Linked DNA regions of Homo sapiens: regions 1, 3, 4, 5 and 6 are each linked to region 2. The links are contacts of gene promoters, found by promoter capture Hi-C in human tissues and cell types (Jung and others, 2019). All regions are on one chromosome and are shown on one strand. The core of a region is centred on a gene start or on the middle of the fragment in contact, and the rest is flanking DNA. Distances in the headings are between cores, read along the strand shown.

Region 1 (2,944 bases), core at 198-2,697, 140 kb after region 2:
CCTGTCATTAAAGCTACACCTGTAAGCTTTGCCCCTATCCGGGTCAAAAGGCCCTATCATGTAAGGAATCCCAGCAACTAGCAAGGAAGTGAAGACAGTCTAGGAGGGAAAGACTCCTGGTTTTCTGGAAACCTATGCAGTGGGAGCTTTAATAGTTGCCCTCAATCTCCCTGCCCTCCTTGCTTGCCCCTTTGTTCTGTTTAAGGCTAGCTGCATATTTCTTCTTGTGTTTTCACGGAGTAGTCCACCATCACACCATATGGGCTTTTTCCTGTGGTGATTAATTAGGTTGCATGCTGAGCTCTCTGATTCTTTGGGGACTGTGTTTCCTCATGGTCTTGTCAGAACATGCAGAATAGCTGTGTGATACTTCTCACATTTGCACCCACTGCTAACAAGGTATCTGACAACTCCTCAATATCATGTTGGATGCAAGGCACAGGATGCTGCTGGGCTAGTGCTGTTTAATTTTCAGATCTCTGGTAGCTATGAGTTTGAGGAGGCTCGGGTCACATTTTCTTATTTATGTTTCATCTCTACTTTCATATGATTATAATAGTAATATTTGAAAACTTTTTGCATAAAGGCAGAAGAGGAAAAAACCCATATTTAGTGACTAATTTTTCTACAGTATAATAATGAAAAGAAGTGAGTGCAGAAACATTTCTAACAATTGTTATAATAATGATGGTGATAGAAATAATTGAAGGCTGGGCACAGTGGCTCACACCTGTGATCCCAGTAGTTTGGGAGGCCAAGGTGGGTGGATCCCTTGAGCCCAAGAGTTCAGGACCAGCCTGGCAACATGGCGAAACCTCACCTCTACTAAAAATAAAAAAATTATCCAGGTGTCGTGTCACGTGACTGTCATCTGAGCTACTCAGGAAGCTGAGGTGGGAGGATCAGTTGAGCCCCCAGGAGGTCGAGACTGAAGGGAGTGCCACTGTACTCAGCCTGGGTGACAGAGCCAAGCCCTGTCTAAAAAAGAGAGAGAGAGGGAAGAGAAAGAGGAAGGAGAGGGAGGAAGGAGGAAGGAAGGAAAGAAAAAAGGAAAAAAGTAGCCTGTGTGCTTTCTTTTCTTTATTTTTTGAGACAGGGTCTCACTCTGTTGCCCAGGCTGGAGTGCAGTGGCGCGATCTCGGCTCACTGCAACCTCAGCCTTCTGGGTTCAAGTGATTCTCCTGCCTCAGCCTCTGGGGTAGCTAGGAGTATAGGCGAGCACCACCACACCTGGATAATGTTTGTATTTTTAGGAGAGACAGGGTTTTGCCATGTTGGCCAGGCTGTTCTTGAACTGCTGGCCTCAAGTGATCTACCCACCTCGGCCTCCCAAAGTGCTGGGATTACAGGCGTGAGCCACCGCGTCTGGCCATGAATAGTAGCCTGTGTGCTTTGATGCATCCTGCTAAGACTTTACCCATCCTTACCTTTTAAAATATTGACCCTAACATGCTGAGAATAGGAACTGTTACTTTCTTCATTTTAGAGAAGAGGATTTTGAGGCCCAGGAAATAAAGTAACTGACTGTAAGTCCCTCTTAGGGAGAGTTACATTTTTACAAAACTTTTCATTAAACAATTAAAAAAATTTAGTTTGAGTTAAAACGTTTATACACACGTGTACACACACACACAGGCACAGTAAATTGTACAAATCTGAAGTATGTGGCTCAGTGTGTTTCTATAGGTGTGTTACTGCTTTCACCTGAGTGGCTGCCTTGCAGATCAAGATGGAATACTTTCTAGCATTCCAGGCACATCTGTCATTTTTCCCAACCCCCCACCAGGTAACCACTATTGTATTTCCACTCACCATACAGATAGATTTGCCCACATAACTTAGGGAACTCTTTTGGGTCTGTCTGCTTTTGCTCAACATAATGTCTATGAAATTCACACGTGATGTTGTGCGGTACTTACTCTTTAGTTATTGATTATACAACTATACAACAGTTTGCCAGTTTTCTTCTTGTTAGACCTTTTGAGTTCTTTCTAGTTTTAGGCTTTCATGAGTAAAGCTGTAAAGAGCAATCTTGTAAATGCCTGTTGGTGCACATTTGTATGCAGTTCCCTCTGGTGCCTACCATAAGGGATAAGGTTAAATGTAATTCATACGGTGGGTGCAGAATTTGCATTTGAACCTTGATTCTCTATAGGCAGAGCCTTGGCTCGTTACCACTACCCTCTGCTGCTGCCTGTAATTTTAAAGCCTGTATTTCTCCCCAGGTAAGGAAGTTGAATCTTTTTTTTTTTTTTCCCCCTGTATGAAAGTTCAGTGGACTGGCACTTTAAGATGGTTCTTAGCAGCTTGTGTTTGCCCCACTTATATAGGTGCCACACCATTAAACTGCCTATCATTTTCCGACTGATGCCTTTCTGGAAAATAGATAAAGGACATCAGAAGAATGCATCTTATCAGTATTGATTTAGCCGAAAGGGTTGTAAAGAAATCAGTTACAGTAATGTCAAATTTCATAAGATTGGTTTTGAGAGAGTAGCTGTGTCAACTAGGCTGACATTTTTTCTCTTTTGGCTTTATTTCGTAGTATGGGCATTAATGGTGGAGTGATCCAGATTTGGAAACCAAAAATGGTATTTCTAAGGCATTCCACAGGGCTGGGGGAGTTGATGCTGTATCTTTTCATGCTCCCTTGGTGCTAACTGGCTGTATGGCCTTGGGAAGGCCACTTAGTTTCTCCTGCCTCGCTCATTTGTAAAGTGGGGGGCATAGGATTGTATCAGTGAAACTTCACCTTTTCTTGGTAATCTGATGGATGACCCTCTCCTTTGAAAAACAAACACAAATCTGTGTAAATTTCAAACCCATTTCATATGGGCTTGTTGATACCTGTTAGCTCGTGATTTCTTAATTATAAAGGAAATTCCCAATTCTATTATTAATGAAAGTTCAGCTCTCTGCATTTTGGAGAAGTCTTTTATTATAC
Region 2 (2,812 bases), core at 38-2,537:
TAGTCCCAGCTACTCGGGAGGCTGAGGCAGGAGAATCGCCCGAACCCGGGAGGCGAAGGTTGTAGTGAGCCGAAATCGAGCCACTGTACTCCAGCCTGGGCGACGGAGCGAGACTCCGTCTCAAAACAAAACAAAACAATCCCACGTCAAGATCGCTTTGAAACACAGGCAGAAAAATTAGGCAAAAAATGTCAAACGGCTAATTACCTTGGCTCAGTTACACATTTACTCGAAAGCCCGCCTCCCCCACTTTTAGCCCCAGCGTTAAGAATGTAAAATAGGGCGCTTAGAAGTCTAAGCGATAAAGATCTTCTTACCGAGAGCCAAGGGACAAAACTCATTACAGATAAGCCTAGTCCTCCCATTTCCCCCGGACGCCTCTCCCCGATTGCTAAAGAAGCAGCCGCTCCCCGGGTAGCTGCCAGGAAATCAGTCCGGCCCCGCGGCGCTGCTTTCACCCTGCAGGGTGTAAGAGGCGCACTTCCTGCGCCCTCCCCGCGGCCAAACCGGGGTGCGGGAACCTTCTCCAGAGAAGCTGCGAGTTGGGGAAACTCCGCCACCGATCCATCGTGGCGCCGGGAAAGGGGATGCGGGGCTCGGAAGGGCTAGATTTCGCAATCCTGGGATCGACATTCCTCCCCTCCCCCACTTTCCCCAGCCTTGGACTGGGCCAATGAAAGCCCGAAAAAGAAAAAAAAAAAAAATTAAATCTCAATGTAGCCGGAGTGCAAAGGCCGCTCGGCTTTGTTTCCCGGCGGGGGAATGCGCTGTGTTGGAGGCGCGAACAGGAGCCGCAGACGGTGAGCCTCACCGCTGCAAATGCCAGGGCAGTGAAGCCGAACAGAAAACCCCATCGCTTTAAAAAGGCAGCTGTCCGCCCTCCCCCTTTCCCCTCGCCAGGGCGAGGGGCCCCTCAAGTCCGGGATCCGCGAGCTGCGCGGAGGATCTCGCCAAACCCGAGCACCGTGCGGCGTCTTTTAAGAGCTCGAACAACGGGAATCCAGCAAAAAACAAGCCGGCCCCAGAAGGCAGCCTCCCTCCTCTCTCCGCGCACGGGCTACAATCGCCCCCAGTCCCCAAACTGTCCCAGTAGAGGCCGCGCGGAGAGAGCAGAGCCGAGGGACCCAGCGCAAGGCGGGAGCCAAGCGCGGCTGCTTTAAGAACGCGGAGAGCGCGCGCCCGCCGCCAGCTGGCCCGGGCTGCGCGCCCCCGCCGCCACCGCGCGCCCCCTGTTCGCTCGCTCCTTCGCTCGCCGGCTTTAAAGTCTCTGCCAGGATCCATGCTCACATGTTACTTCCTGTATGGAGGCATGGCCAGTTTCCAGCCCCGCGCTCTTCGTTCCTTCCCAGCCTGCGCCGGAGCCACAACTTTCAGGAGCATGGACTGAAGGCGCCCTCGCCCCAGCGCCCCTCTGAGATCCTTTGTGTTTTCCTCCGTTTCCTCCGGCCGTTTCTATTTTGGGGGGCTCTCCGCTCCCCCTGCCTCTCCCCTCCCCTTCCCCTCTCGCAAACATGCCTCCTTCCTTCCCGGGGCCCTGGAAGGAGCTGCCTGCCTGAAGCCCGGAGACGCCGCGCCGCGCTCAGCCCCGCCGCCGCCCGCCGGCTCTCGGGCTGTGCTGCGCTGCCGACTCAAGTTGGGGATCCTCGGCTGCTCGCCGCCGCCGCCCGCGGTCCCTGCCTGCCCCAGGCCCGGGGCATCGCCGCCGGCCGCCGACTCCGCGCCCTGCCCGATCGGCTCTCTCCTTTTTAAACGGAAAGCAGCCTTTCTCCGCCGAGAGGATCGTCCCCAGCGTGGCTCTGCGTTCCCGGTCACTTTTTGAGATTTTCCGGGGGGCGCTCGGCGGCTTCCCGGATTCCAAGGGGACTCGGGCCGCCGAGCGCGGGGGGCCCGTGGAGCGGGCGAGCCGGGGAAGCGCCCCGGCTTAGCGGAGGCTCGCACGGAGGCAAGAACTTATTCAACAAGTTTACCTCCCTGCTTTCCTCTTTTCGATGTGCGTTTTCGGACATGCGGAGGTTACTGGAACCGTGTTGGTGGATTTTGTTCCTGAAAATCACCAGTTCCGTGCTCCATTATGTCGTGTGCTTCCCCGGTGAGTGCCGGCCGCCGAGGGGATGCGGCCCCGGCCGGCGCGCGTTGGGGATGCGGAGTTGTCGCCTGGGCGCGGAGCTCCGGCGCCCGTCCGGGAGACCCTGGAGAGGGTGGAGGGTGGCCCGGCGCCCGGATAGGAGAAAAGGATTGCTCCGCTGGCTTGGATGATGTTTAGGGAGGCAGGCTAGTGGTCGAGGAAGGTGGAGGCAGGGGCTGGCCGGGGAGGGGGCTGGGGGACGCGGGGGTCTGCTCCCGCTCCCTTTTGGGGGTCCTGGGGAGCTGGAATCGGGAGAAAGGGGGACTTGCTTTGCTGACTCGTCGCCGATCGGGAGAACTCGAGTTGTGGGGCGGTTGGGGAGACTGAGGCCATGGAAAGGATGCTTCTGTGGGTTTGGGGGGCCCGGGATGAGCCCCCTCGCTCTGGCGGGTATTGAAGGAACTCAGAAGGTGGGGGTTTGCTTTGCTGTTCTCCATCCCTTTGGGAGGGCTAGGTTTCGGGGAATGGAAGTCGGAGGCTGGCTGCGGAGGACTGAGGATGTGTGGGGAGCAGCCTGCGTTCTGGGTCGGGGGCGTCCTCCCTCTCTCTGGGGGCTGGGGCGCGGGCAGCACTTCGGTGCCGGCGTGAGGCAGCCTCCTTGGGCGCAGTGAGACGGCAGGGCGCAGGCGGTTTCGGAGAGATCCGTGTCTCCCCTAGCCCCGGCCCGTGGCCCTTTCCCTCCGCTGC
Region 3 (3,087 bases), core at 531-3,030, 210 kb after region 2:
TTTGTACTCATTTGTTCCCAAACCCTCTTGTAGATATTTGAGTATAAAGATAGATTCATGTGGTCACCGCTTCTATGGAGCTCAAAGGCTCTCTTTCTCTTTTCTCTATTGAAACCCAATTTTTATTAGCATTGAAGGCCACTGACGTTGTAGGTTAAACATAAAAACGTCTAATATATCTATCTCAATACTCCTATTGCAGGTCTACGAGGAGTTTGAAAAGGTGTAAGATTATTTATACATCAGAGTGGCTCAGAAATACTTTTTCTTTAAATTGGAATGATAATATCATACCAAAAGTATTGATATATCCATTTAAATTGTGAGCTGTGAATGTTATTCCATCTTCCTTCATTCCTATACAGTTTCGAGCTCAAATTGGAGAAGGTCATGTGAAAACCACTTTTCTCCCCAAAGAAATGTTGGCATTATTTTAACATCTTTTTCCTACCCTGGATTCTTTCTCACATCCCAGACTAATTCCAAAAGAGTTTCTTCAGTCACTGCTGTTGACAAGAGACTTTATTTTTGGAGATAATTTTTTCTTGTTAAGTTTTCTTTCTTAGATTTTGATTCTAACATCTCTAATTGATAATCACATTTTCCAGATTTCTATCTATATATTAAAGGAGTAGATCTGGAATTTCAGCTCTCTTTAGTAGACTGCATTATAGAAAGGAAACTTTGTTCGTATCACACATGTATTATTTAACACCATTATTAATGTTAAAAAAAATTTTTTTTTTTTTTCGTTTAAGACAGTCTCACCCTGTTGCCCAGATTGGAGTGTGGTGTCATAATCTCTGGTCACTGCAACCTCCATCTCCTGAGTTTAAGCAATTCTCCTGTCTCAGCCTCCCTAGTAGCTGGGATTGCAGGCATTTGCCACCATACCCAGCTAATGTTTATTGTATTTTTAGTAGAGATGGTTTTTCACCATGTTGGCCAGGCTGGTCTCAAACTCCTGATCTCAAATGATCTGCACACCTTGGCCTCCCAAAGTGCTGGGATTACAGGCATGAGCCATCGCGCCCAGCCCAGCCATTGATTATTAAACATGTTACTTAGAAAGTAGAATTAGGACAGGAGCACTGGCTCAGGCCTGTAATACCAGCACTTTGGGAGGCCGAGGCAGGCAGATGACTTGAGGTCAGGAGTTCGAGACCATCCCGGCCAACATGGTGAAACCCCATCTCTACTAAAAATACAACAATTAGCTGGGCGTGGTGGTGCACGCCTGTAGTCCCAGCTACTTGAGAGGCTGAGGCAGGAGAATTCCTTGAACCTGAGAGACAGAGGTTGCAGTGAGCCGAGATTGCACCACTGCACTCTAGCCTTGTGACAGCAAGATTCCATCTCAAAAAAAAAAAAAAAAAGAAAGTAGAATTATCAAACTCCATTTTTTTAACTAATTTTTTATGTTAAAAAAGGCATACCATTTTCTTTTACTCTCATTTTGTTTTTGCTTATTCTAGTACATGATGATTTCCTTGTAGTAAATAGTTTTTTCTAATTTTCCCCATGTAGACAAATCCAAAATGCATACATGCTCATTTAAATAATTTGTCCACTGGTAACCTCAGCTGAGCGCTGCCCTTGGCAGAATATGTTTTACAGGATATTAAATGTGTTTAAAATATTCTTTCATATTAATTGGTTGGCATTTAGATGTCTTAAGTTGTTTTAATAAATTAGGGAAAGCTAGAATATAAAAGGTAGAAAATATATACATTTTCAGTGTTCCAAGACACTTTGGTGGACTATAGAATGCTTTAAATGCAAGTTAAGATGAATGTTTTATATTTGGCTGGGCATAATGGCTCATGCCTATAATCTCAGCACTTTGGGAAGCCGAGGTGGGAGGATCGCTTGAGCCCAGGAGTTCAAGACCAGCCTAAGCAACATAGTGGGATCCCGTTTGTACCAAAGGAAAAAAAAAATAGCTGGATATGGTGGCACACGCCTGTAGTTCCAACTACTGTGGAGGCTTACATAGGAGGATTGCTTGAGCCTGGGAGGTTGAGGCTACAGTGAGCTGTGATTGCACCAGTGCACTCCAGCCTGGGTGACAGAAAGCAAGACCCTGTCTCAAAAAAAAAAAAAAAAAAAAAATCTTGGTATTTAATTTTGATCTCTCACTACGGAACAGAATAGATTTATGCATTGGGAGGATAGGAAATATAATAATTAGAGATATATTAATTGATTTTAGATTTTTGTCTGTAAAATACTAGTCATAAATGCAGTTACTAGAATCCATGTTTATGGTCTTTGAATTTGATCAAGACAGAGAGTTATTCATCAAAAAGCCACTAGACCCACCATTTATCACAACTAATCGTGAACTTATATCTCTGTAACTCACAGGTATGATGTATGTCTTTTTTTTGGTAGGGATATTTACTACAGGAATTAATTTCAGACATTGGGAGACTTTTATAGCCATTTAACTGTTAGCTACCTAGAGATTTAAATAATTTTCCTGGTTTCTCTGTGTTAGCCTCTGGGAGTAGAGTTTCTCTGCACAAAAAGAATGTCATCAGTACAGAATTGTTGGAGTCTCTCTTTGCCAGCCTCAGTACTGAGTCTGTGTAGGAAGTCCCCGGCAAGTAGCTAAGTATGGGTTGTTGCTCGGAGAGCATTTTCTCAAAATCTGTGTCTGGAACATTAGTTGAGGAGGCTGTTCACAGGCTTTTTATGGCAGGAGGGTTCTGTGACCATGGAAGATTGGGAAAGGCCAAAGTAAAGATTGTCATACAGGTTTCTTTGCTGCAAGACTTCTCAGATCCTTTAATAGTCCACTCTTAATAGAATTGGAAACTTGTCCTTCACTGTGCACTTAGACGTCCGATTAGAAAGTGAGGGAAAGAGGAAAATAGTTGTGTGGGGGAGGGTGTGTTTGCCCAGGGAAGAGGGGTATGGGGGAGGAGAAAGGTTGATTCTCCTGAGTTGGCTCAGTGTCTACTATCATAATGATTTCCCCACAGCTTTATGAGGGCTGTGCTGCTGTTGTGAGGTGTGGTCACAGGGAAATTTCAGTCTGAAAGATGAGTTCCACATGATTCACACACCTCCTATGAAGTAGTA
Region 4 (2,789 bases), core at 188-2,687, 130 kb before region 2:
CTTGATGTGCTTTAATTCATTTCTCCCTTCACTCTCACACTCAAAAGGAAACGGGTAAGGTTAGGTAAAATTGCTACTTAATGAGGGGTTACTGAGTGTGTAATTGCTCCCAGAGTGTTTTTAGAGTAATAGTCCGCTGGTAGGAGCCAAGCTTGCTATAAAGAATCTTGCTAAACTGCCCAAAGATTGTAATTCCATTCACTGGTGGTTATTTGAGTAACATACCAAAGACTAAGGAGCATCATTTATTAAAAGCCCTTTGCGGCCGGGCACGGTGGCTCACACCTGTAATCTCAGCACTTTGGGAGGCTGAGGTGGGTGGATCACTTGAGGTCAGGAGTTCGAAACCAGCCTGGCCAACATGGTGAAACACCATCTCTACTAAAAATACAAAAATTAGCTGGGCCTGGTGGGTGGGTGCCTGTAATCCCAGGTCCTTGCGGGGCTGAGGCAGGAGAATCGCTTGAACCCGGGAGGCATAGGTTGCAGTGAGCTAAGATCGGGCCACTGCACTCCAGCCTGAGCCACAGAGCAAGACTCCGTGTCAAAAAAAAAAAAAAGTCCTTTTCTCTCACCTCATCTCAAGCAGTTCAGCAAATTCAGACGTTCAAGGTTTCCATCCTTGAGTTGTGGAGTGATGGGTACTGAAGTCAGTGCTGAGGTGCCTCTAGAAACTTCCTTCCAGCTGTAGAATTTACTAGGAAGTAGATGCATTCTTTGTCAGCGTTTTTTAGACAGAATCACTACACTATATTATTTTTTTAGAGCTTAAGGGAGCTTAGGATCATGATTGCATTCGTGTGCCCTATTTCACAAACGAGGTCAGCTAGCTGGGAGGACAGTTAGTTCGGCTGACTGCTAGCCTACTGCTCTTACCATTTTCTCCCAAGACAGAGGCATGGCATAACCTGATCTGTAATGAGGTGGCCCAGGAGGGATGGGCACACAGTTGGCATTGACAGGTAAGCTTCTGCTCACGTTCTCACTTGGTATTCATGTTTCTCTTGGTGGAAACTCTGCCATTTTTCCATAGTCCTAGAGTTGGTGTGAGGTTTGTTTTTATTTTATGTTTTCTCCCACCTTATAGCTTTCAAATCTTTCCCTTCAAGGCTATGGCCCAAATGTGCCAGGGGAAGACTGTCCAAACCTCCGTTTTCCCACAGAGGCTAGCGGAAGCCATGCAGGGCTGTCATTAGACTCCCTGAGCCGTGGTTAAATTACCTGAGGAGCGGTGCCCACTCCGGAAGTGGGTGCACTTAGACTTCCGTTTGTTTCCTCAAATCCGGTCATGGGATTTTTCTCTTCCTCAGAGAGGCAGCGGGATCCATTACTTCCAGTTCACCGCTTTCCCAGCACCATTTCAAATGCGCTTTGGTAAGGAGAACAAAGACAATGAGACCTCTTGGTATGCCTGCGTCTCCAGGTTGGGGTGTCTGTGAAAAAATCTCGGGGTTCTGTGGACTCTCCAGTCAGTTTCTGTGGAGTCAGAGTTAGGGGTAACCCTCGCCCTGGATCTTTGCAATTAATTTAGAAACTTGGAGAGATTTTTTTGCTTTTGGATTTTCTTTTTTTCCCCTGGGGCCACCATTCTGGGAGTTTATTGCCTTCAATTAAGTCTCTCTGCTTGTTGTAGGTGAATTACTTTTGCTCATTTTTACCGTAATTTACTCTTCAGACCCTGGGGAAACAATCGGCTCCAGGCAGCCATTTTCATCACAGCATCATTCACAAGAGAAATAACATCATCATGTGCCTGATAAAGTACAATAATATCATCTCTTGTATCCATTTTGTGAACTATCCACAACATTTTTAATCCTTTTATGTAACTTACTGTGACTCAAGCTACCACCTATGGGAATGTAAGCTCACTGGGGGCTCGCTGGGGACCTCCTCTTATTTGCCACTTTTTCCCAGCAGTATGTACAGTGCCTGGAATGTGTGGGCAGTTCACAAGTTGGTCGAATTAATAATAGACAAGTATTCGGGTTACATTACTAATTATTTTTAAATCATATGGAGTATGAAATTTGAGAAGAGAAGTAAGTGGTCTGGTGATTTGGCTTACACATTTCACCACTCACCTTTACTAAGATGGAAAATTAAATGCTATCTGTAGGTCCACAGTCAGAAAGAAAAAAAGTGATAAATAAGGACAGGTTGGAAAGACTTATGAACTAGCATTATAACGGTTCTCTCAAAGCTCTTTAAAAAAAACACACACACACACACACACAGTTTTGCACTGTTGCACATGCTAGAGTGTAGTGGCACCATCTCAGCTCACTGCAACCTGAGCCTCCCGGTTCAAGCAATTCTCGTGCCTCATCCACCAGAGTAGCTGGAACTACAGGCACGCGACACCACGCCCAGCTAATTTTTGTACTTTTGGTAGAGACGGGGTTTCGCCCTGTCGGCCAGGCTGGTCGCAAACTCCTGGCCTCAAGGAATCCGCCCACCTACACCTCCCAAAGTGCTGGGATTACAGGCGTAAGCTCTTGGCTCACACTGAAGGCTCTTTTGATTATCAGCAGCACACCCTACTCAAAGTAACTCAAATGAAAATGGAAGGTGAGAGTTAGTTGTAATGCTACAGCAACCTCACAGACACCAAAAAGTAGAAATGAAATTTAGTTGGACATTATGCAAACCAGAGCATGGCGAGCAGAATAACCAAGATTTCTCTGAGCAGAATAACCAAGATTTCTCTATGTGGCTTTTCTCATTTATGCATCTCAGAGTCAGGTCCTTCATCTTTCTCTCACCTGCCTTCCTCTGCCTACTCATCT
Region 5 (2,700 bases), core at 194-2,693, 160 kb after region 2:
CTGTTGAGATATCTTTCTAAGAAGTTGCTAAGTTTTATCTGCCCTCATCTTCCTCCATCCCTCCCCCTTGGTATTACCATTATAAATAGGATACATGTGCACATTTTTGGTGAAACAAGAAAAGGGAAACCCCCATGGTTTCATTGTCTTTAAATATATATTTTCTCATGTTACGAGGTCCTTGTTTCTATCAAAAAGGGTTGGATAGAAAGTAAAAATGATGGCTACTGTTAGATTATCTTTAGAAGAGATATATATTATTAAAAATACCATTAACTTTTAATTTTGAAATAATTGTAGATTCACAGGAAGGTGCCAAGATAGTACAGAGCGGTCCCATATACCCCCTTTTTTTGTTTTCTCTAGTGGTTCCATCTTACAGGATTACAGTACAATATCAAAACCAGGAGTTTGATATTGGCACAATATATGTTTGTAGGTCGTGGACATTTTATCTCATATATGGTGTAACCACTGCTGAAGTCCAGATACTGGATGATTCCCATGTCACAAAGATTTCCCTCATTCTACCCCTTTATAATTGCAAACATCCTTTCCTCTACTATCTCCAAATGGTGGCATCCACTAATCTGTCTTACATCTCTCTCATTTCGTCATTTTGAGAATATTGGGCTGGGCCCTGTGGCTCATGCCTATAATCCCAGCACTTTGGGAGGCTGAGGCGGGTGGATCACTTGAGGTCAAGAGTTTGAGACCAGTCTGACCAATATGGTGAAACCTTGTCTCTACTAAAAATACGAAAATTAGCCTGGGTGTGGCAGTTGGCGTCTGTAACCCCAGCTACTTGGGAGGCTGAGGCACTGGAGGGGGAGGTTGCAGTGAGCTGAGATCATGCCACTGTACTCCAGCCTGGGTGACAGAGTGAGACTCCCATCTCCAAAAAAAAAAAAAAGTAGTTATATACATAGAATCATATAATATGTATATAGTGTGTGACTTTCATAGTGCCCCTGATCTCCATCCAAGTCATTGTGTGCACCAATAGTTTGCTTGGCCTTATTGTAAAGTAGTATTCTGTGGCATGGATGCACCACAGTTGGTTTAATCTTTCACCTTTTGAGGGAGATTTTGGTTGTTTTCACTTCCTAGCTGCTACAAAGTCAAATATTAACAGTGCGTACACGTTTTTGGATGATCATAAGTTTTCACTTCCCTGGGATAGTCACCCCAGAATACAGTTGCTGGGGTGTATGGTAAATGTATATTTAAGTTTTTTTTACTGCCAGGCTCTTCCAGAGTACCTTTCCCACTCTACACTCCCACCAGCAATGCATAAGAGATCCAGTTTTTTTGCATCCACCCCAGCAGCTTTTGGTATTACCACTATTTTTTTATTTTAGCGATTCTGATAGGTATGCAGTTATATCTCAGTGTGGTCCCAATTTTCATTTTCCTGGTGGCTAATGATACCGAATATCCTTTCATGTGCTCATTTGCTGTCCTGTCTTTGTGTCTTTTGCCCACTTTCTTATTGGATTTCTTTTTACTGTTGAGTTTTGAGAGTTCTACACACACTCTAGATAGTAGATATTTGCAAACCCCATCAGATATGTGGTTTGCAAATATTTTTTATCAGTATAGAGCCTGTTCCCACGTCCTCTCACCAAGGCTCTTTATAGCACAAACATTCTTACTTTGAATGAAATCGAATTGATTGATTTCTTCTCTCTGGCCGATGCTTTGGTTGTCATATCTGAAAACTCTTCACCAAGCACCAGGTACAGAAGATTTTCTCTTCTCCTTTTTTACCACTTACGAGTTTCATACTTTACATTTAAATGTACAATCCATTTTGAGTTAATTTTTGTGTAAGTTGTGAGATTTACGTTGAGATACGCTTTTTTTTGGGACAGAATCTTGCTCTGTCACCCAGGCTGGAGTACAGTGGCGTGATCTGGGCTCACTGCAACCTCCACCTCCTGAGTTCAAGTGATTTCTGGCTAATTTTTGTATTTTTAGTAGAGACAGGATTTTCACCATGTTGGCCAGGCTGATCTGGAGCTCCTGACCTCAAGCGATCTACCTACCTCAGCCTCCCAAAGTGTGAGATACACTTTGTATTTTATTTTTTAAATTTTTTGCCTGTGGATGTCCAATTGCTCCAGCACCATTTGTTGAAAAGACTATCCTTCCTCCATTGAACTGCCTTTGCACCTTTGTCAAAAATCAGTTGGCCGTACTCTGTGGGTCTCCTTCTGGGTTCTCTATTCTGTTCCATTGATCTTTATGCCTGAATCTCAGCCTATACCACATAGTCTTGATAACTTTAGATATAGAACAAGTCTTGAATTTGGATAGAGTGATTCTACCCACTCTATTCTTCTCTTTTTGAAGATTTGATTCCCTGCCTACCTCCACCACTACCCCCACCTTTTTTTTTTTTTTTTGGCTTGGAATGGCTACTGTGTTCATTGCAAATGACCACAGCACTCCCTGAGAAATCTTCCCTTTCATGTGGCACATTTAATCCTGAGGGCCAGTTCTAACGGTTTGGTAATGTCTTATCATCTGTTTTATTCCTTTCTGGATTCCAATTTTAAGTCAGATCGAGAGAACAAGGCCTGGCCCAGCAGGAGAGTTCTCTGATCCTTCGGTCCTATCTGACTTGGGTATGATAGGTATGTGGTATCAACAAAGCTGGGTTTTTGCCTCACTGGTATCAAATAAGGCACTGCTGAG
Region 6 (3,076 bases), core at 473-2,972, 220 kb after region 2:
AAGCATTCCTAGGAACTAAAATACTTAAAGAGTGTTCATTGTATTTAGGGTTGAGTAGATATAGATGCCAGTTCACACAGTATCACCATGTGATAACTACAATAATGCAGAAATGCATTGGTTGCTATAGGAACCAGCTATAATGTGTCCTAGGGTGTGGCTTGGTGGACAGGGAAGATGTCTGTGTGTCTGGGTGATATGTGTGCTGTGGTTGAGGAGGGTTGAGATGGTGTGTGCTGCGGGTTGAGATTGACGTTGAGTTGGGGTGGGAGTGGGGAGCTGGCAGCAGCATGTTTGGTGCAGTAGAGAAAGTATGAACAAGGGGTGGAAGCCAGGACTAGCATAGCTCATGCTGGGTGGAGGGCCACAGTGAGGTCCTAAGCCCTGGAAGGAATGTGAAGGCAGGCACTGGAGACAGATGAACTTGGGTTGCATATCGGGGCCTTGTCGTGGAGAGCCTTCATGCCAAGTTTTGGACTCTAAAGTGGAGACATGACAGGGATCTGTGCAGTGATTGACTGAGTTAATTGGAGGTGCTAGCTGGATGTACTGTTGGAAAAGTTCATCTGGCCATTGGGCATTTGAACCTGAGCATGGGATGGGGTCAGAGGTTTGGGATTAGCTTAGATGACTGAAGGAAAATTATAGAGCAATATCCCCTGAGAAACACCAATATTAAAGAAGCTGAAAAACCAAGAGGAACCTGCATAGAGAAGGCTAGGAATGGTGAAAACTACACTGTGGACCTAAGAGCAGTGGGTGAGCCAGAAACTGCTGCAGAATTTGGAAGGAGGTGAATAATTGGTGATGTCAGCGGGGCCACACTCACAGGAGCCTGCCATCCTATTCCCAGCAGCTGATCTGAAGGGCAAGGCTACATGCTGAGTGGCAGTGGGGTTGGGGGACGGGGTTAGGTGATGTTGGATTGAGCGAGAAGCAGCCGTCATTTAACTAATGATTTTCCCTTCCTTCATTTTTTTCAGATACTTATTTCTTAATGCACACCATAATATGTAAATATTTTTGATTCTATAAAGACATAGTTTTAACCTAATTGGGTGGGGGAGAGAGTTTGTGTGAGTGAGTCAAATGAATCATAGAGTTTATTCCTGGAATGAGTACGGACTGTGGTTGAGGATGTTGAGGGTAAGTTAGCAGCTGACATCTGTGTTTCACTTTAAGCTTCCACAAGACTTAAGCCAGATCTAGTTAGCTGATCATCTGCATAGTTGTTCTTTAAGTTGGGTATGCATAACGCTGGTAGATTAGGAGCTTGATAATTTCATTAAGTGATCATGATCTATTTCTTCTGCCTTTCCATTTTTACATGTAGAAGCAAATATCGTTACCAACCAAAATGACCCATTTGCTCTCATTATGAATTACAATTCTTTTAAAGAATTTAGTATGCATATCCTTGACCTTTTTTGAAATTAAAAATTATCTTGAAAATTTACCTCTCCGTCTGTAATTTCTGTGGTGTGCTCAAGAACAGCTTAATAGTCTGAAAACGGATGAATTTAAAATTAGAGAGTTGAAGGTCGTAACCCAGCAGTGATAACTCAGCTAATGAAATATTCATTTCCAAGTACGAAGTGGCACTGTATATCAATATGTTGTCACTGTCTGTCATCATTACGTAGAGCACAGGTATATTTATGCATTTATAAATAGCTAAGGGAAAAAAGAGGCTAATTACATGCAGAAATGCTACAGAAATTTCCGTGGCTGTGCTTCTAACAGGCAACTGCTAACCATTTTTCCAAGCCACGTTTGTGAATTAAGTATAGGTTCTGCACATTAACCTCTGCCGTATTTGGTTTTTAGAATGATGCTCTTAGGGGGAGGACAATTCAGGAGATATACATACTTTTTAAGGTCATGTCCACACTAGGGATTTGTTTATACAAATGTAAAATGAAACGTGCAATTTAGCACCTATCTAGAAAAATTAAACCGAAAACTGTTTGGTTTGAAAAATCTAGAACATTGTAGAAGAGAGATATATTTATATAATTAGCATCACCAATTAAGAATGAATTGACTTTAGCAAAAATCAATGTAATTATCTAGATAATTCAGGCTAATTAAAGACCTTCCCAAATCCTTAGATCTTCATTAGCTGCATGCTTCTGGTAAAAGCAGATTTTTGGGGTGTCACATTAGCTTTATATTTTGCATCAGTCTTGCTCTATTCTGCTGCCGTAGACCTGGCTTCAAATGATAGTGCCCACTTGATAAACAGATGTTGTTCAGGAGAAAATAAAATAGGAAATATAAAATATTCTGTGTCGAATTGAAAGCATGAGGGTCCTCATGTTCTTAGAATCTTCTTAGAAATACAGTATAAAATCTTTATATACAGATACACATTGACAACAATAGAGAACTCATAAGCAGTTACCTGAGCAGGGTTGAACATATAGGTAGGGTCATGATGATAATACACTAATGAACAGCCTGCCTTACACACATGCCTCCAATACACAGACACATACACACTTAGCTTAGGGAAGTAGGGCCACTTCTCTCCTGTTTGTTCTTTTCCTTGGATTCCTATACTTCCCTGGGCCTGTCAGTAACCATCCCTTCTCCCCAGTCACACTTTTTCTGTAGTCCCCTCTCTAAACAGGAAGCGACAACTACTAATTAGACTTATAAATAAAAGCCACCTTAAATGAACATCATGTGTAGGTTTCCCAAGTTATACGTGCCTCTGGCCTTTTTCTCATCATTTACTATGGAAATAAAGACAAACAAACATATTTTCCCCCATAATCTTTGGAGGGTAGAGTAGGTAGTGTCAGATGTGCCTGTTATGGTGGTTGTTCAGAAATTAAAAGAGGGCAATTTGCATTGGCCAATGGACACTTTAGCTTCTAAAAAATTCATTTTATTCTTCTTCTTTGATTATTCCTAGCTTTTAATCTGAGTAAAGGACATAGATTGTGGCTTGGCCTTACTTCATGGCATGGGAAGCACATGATACGAATAAACTTGACTTAGTACTGTATTTGGCCGTGGCTTGACTTGATACCTTGAGCCTCATGAGTTATTTCATCAGTTGGTCGCTAGT

What was found. The method cuts DNA at HindIII sites, captures the fragments that hold promoters and counts their contacts. A contact is called where the count stands out against the background at its distance.
Region 1: a fragment that was not itself captured here is called in contact with the fragment with the promoter of PTPRG in region 2 in 1 of the 25 tissues and cell types used here (H1 embryonic stem cells).
Region 3: a contact is called between a fragment that was not itself captured here and the fragment with the promoter of PTPRG in region 2, in 4 of the 25 tissues and cell types used here (IMR-90 fibroblasts, aorta, dorsolateral prefrontal cortex and 1 more).
Region 4: a fragment that was not itself captured here is called in contact with the fragment with the promoter of PTPRG in region 2 in 1 of the 25 tissues and cell types used here (adrenal gland).
Region 5: a contact is called between a fragment that was not itself captured here and the fragment with the promoter of PTPRG in region 2, in 1 of the 25 tissues and cell types used here (aorta).
Region 6: a contact is called between a fragment that was not itself captured here and the fragment with the promoter of PTPRG in region 2, in 1 of the 25 tissues and cell types used here (IMR-90 fibroblasts).

The regions. Positions count from the first base shown.
Region 1 is chr3:61,700,908-61,703,851 of GRCh38, forward strand. The region is part of intron 1 of PTPRG (protein tyrosine phosphatase receptor type G); the gene reads left to right. Among named protein-coding and RNA genes, the nearest start is that of PTPRG, 140 kb to the left of the region's middle. RefSeq lists an enhancer at 258-1,152. The HindIII fragment of the contact is 6,733 bases long and covers 1-2,944 here.
Region 2 is chr3:61,560,284-61,563,095 of GRCh38, forward strand. It overlaps PTPRG (protein tyrosine phosphatase receptor type G), which reads left to right and starts at 1,288. Exons shown (of 30, transcript NM_002841.4): 1 at 1,288-2,089. The coding sequence starts at 2,005. RefSeq lists an enhancer at 1-65. The HindIII fragment of the contact is 9,021 bases long and covers 1-2,812 here.
Region 3 is chr3:61,765,882-61,768,968 of GRCh38, forward strand. The region is part of intron 2 of PTPRG (protein tyrosine phosphatase receptor type G); the gene reads left to right. Among named protein-coding and RNA genes, the nearest start is that of PTPRG, 210 kb to the left of the region's middle. The HindIII fragment of the contact is 5,933 bases long and covers 1-3,087 here.
Region 4 is chr3:61,427,939-61,430,727 of GRCh38, forward strand. It overlaps LOC105377114 (a long non-coding RNA gene), which reads right to left and starts at 777. Exons shown (of 7, transcript XR_940892.3): 1 at 576-777. The HindIII fragment of the contact is 4,121 bases long and covers 1-2,789 here.
Region 5 is chr3:61,723,319-61,726,018 of GRCh38, forward strand. The region is part of intron 1 of PTPRG (protein tyrosine phosphatase receptor type G); the gene reads left to right. Among named protein-coding and RNA genes, the nearest start is that of PTPRG, 160 kb to the left of the region's middle. The HindIII fragment of the contact is 4,384 bases long and covers 1-2,700 here.
Region 6 is chr3:61,783,379-61,786,454 of GRCh38, forward strand. The region is part of intron 2 of PTPRG (protein tyrosine phosphatase receptor type G); the gene reads left to right. Among named protein-coding and RNA genes, the nearest start is that of PTPRG, 220 kb to the left of the region's middle. The HindIII fragment of the contact is 5,540 bases long and covers 1-3,076 here.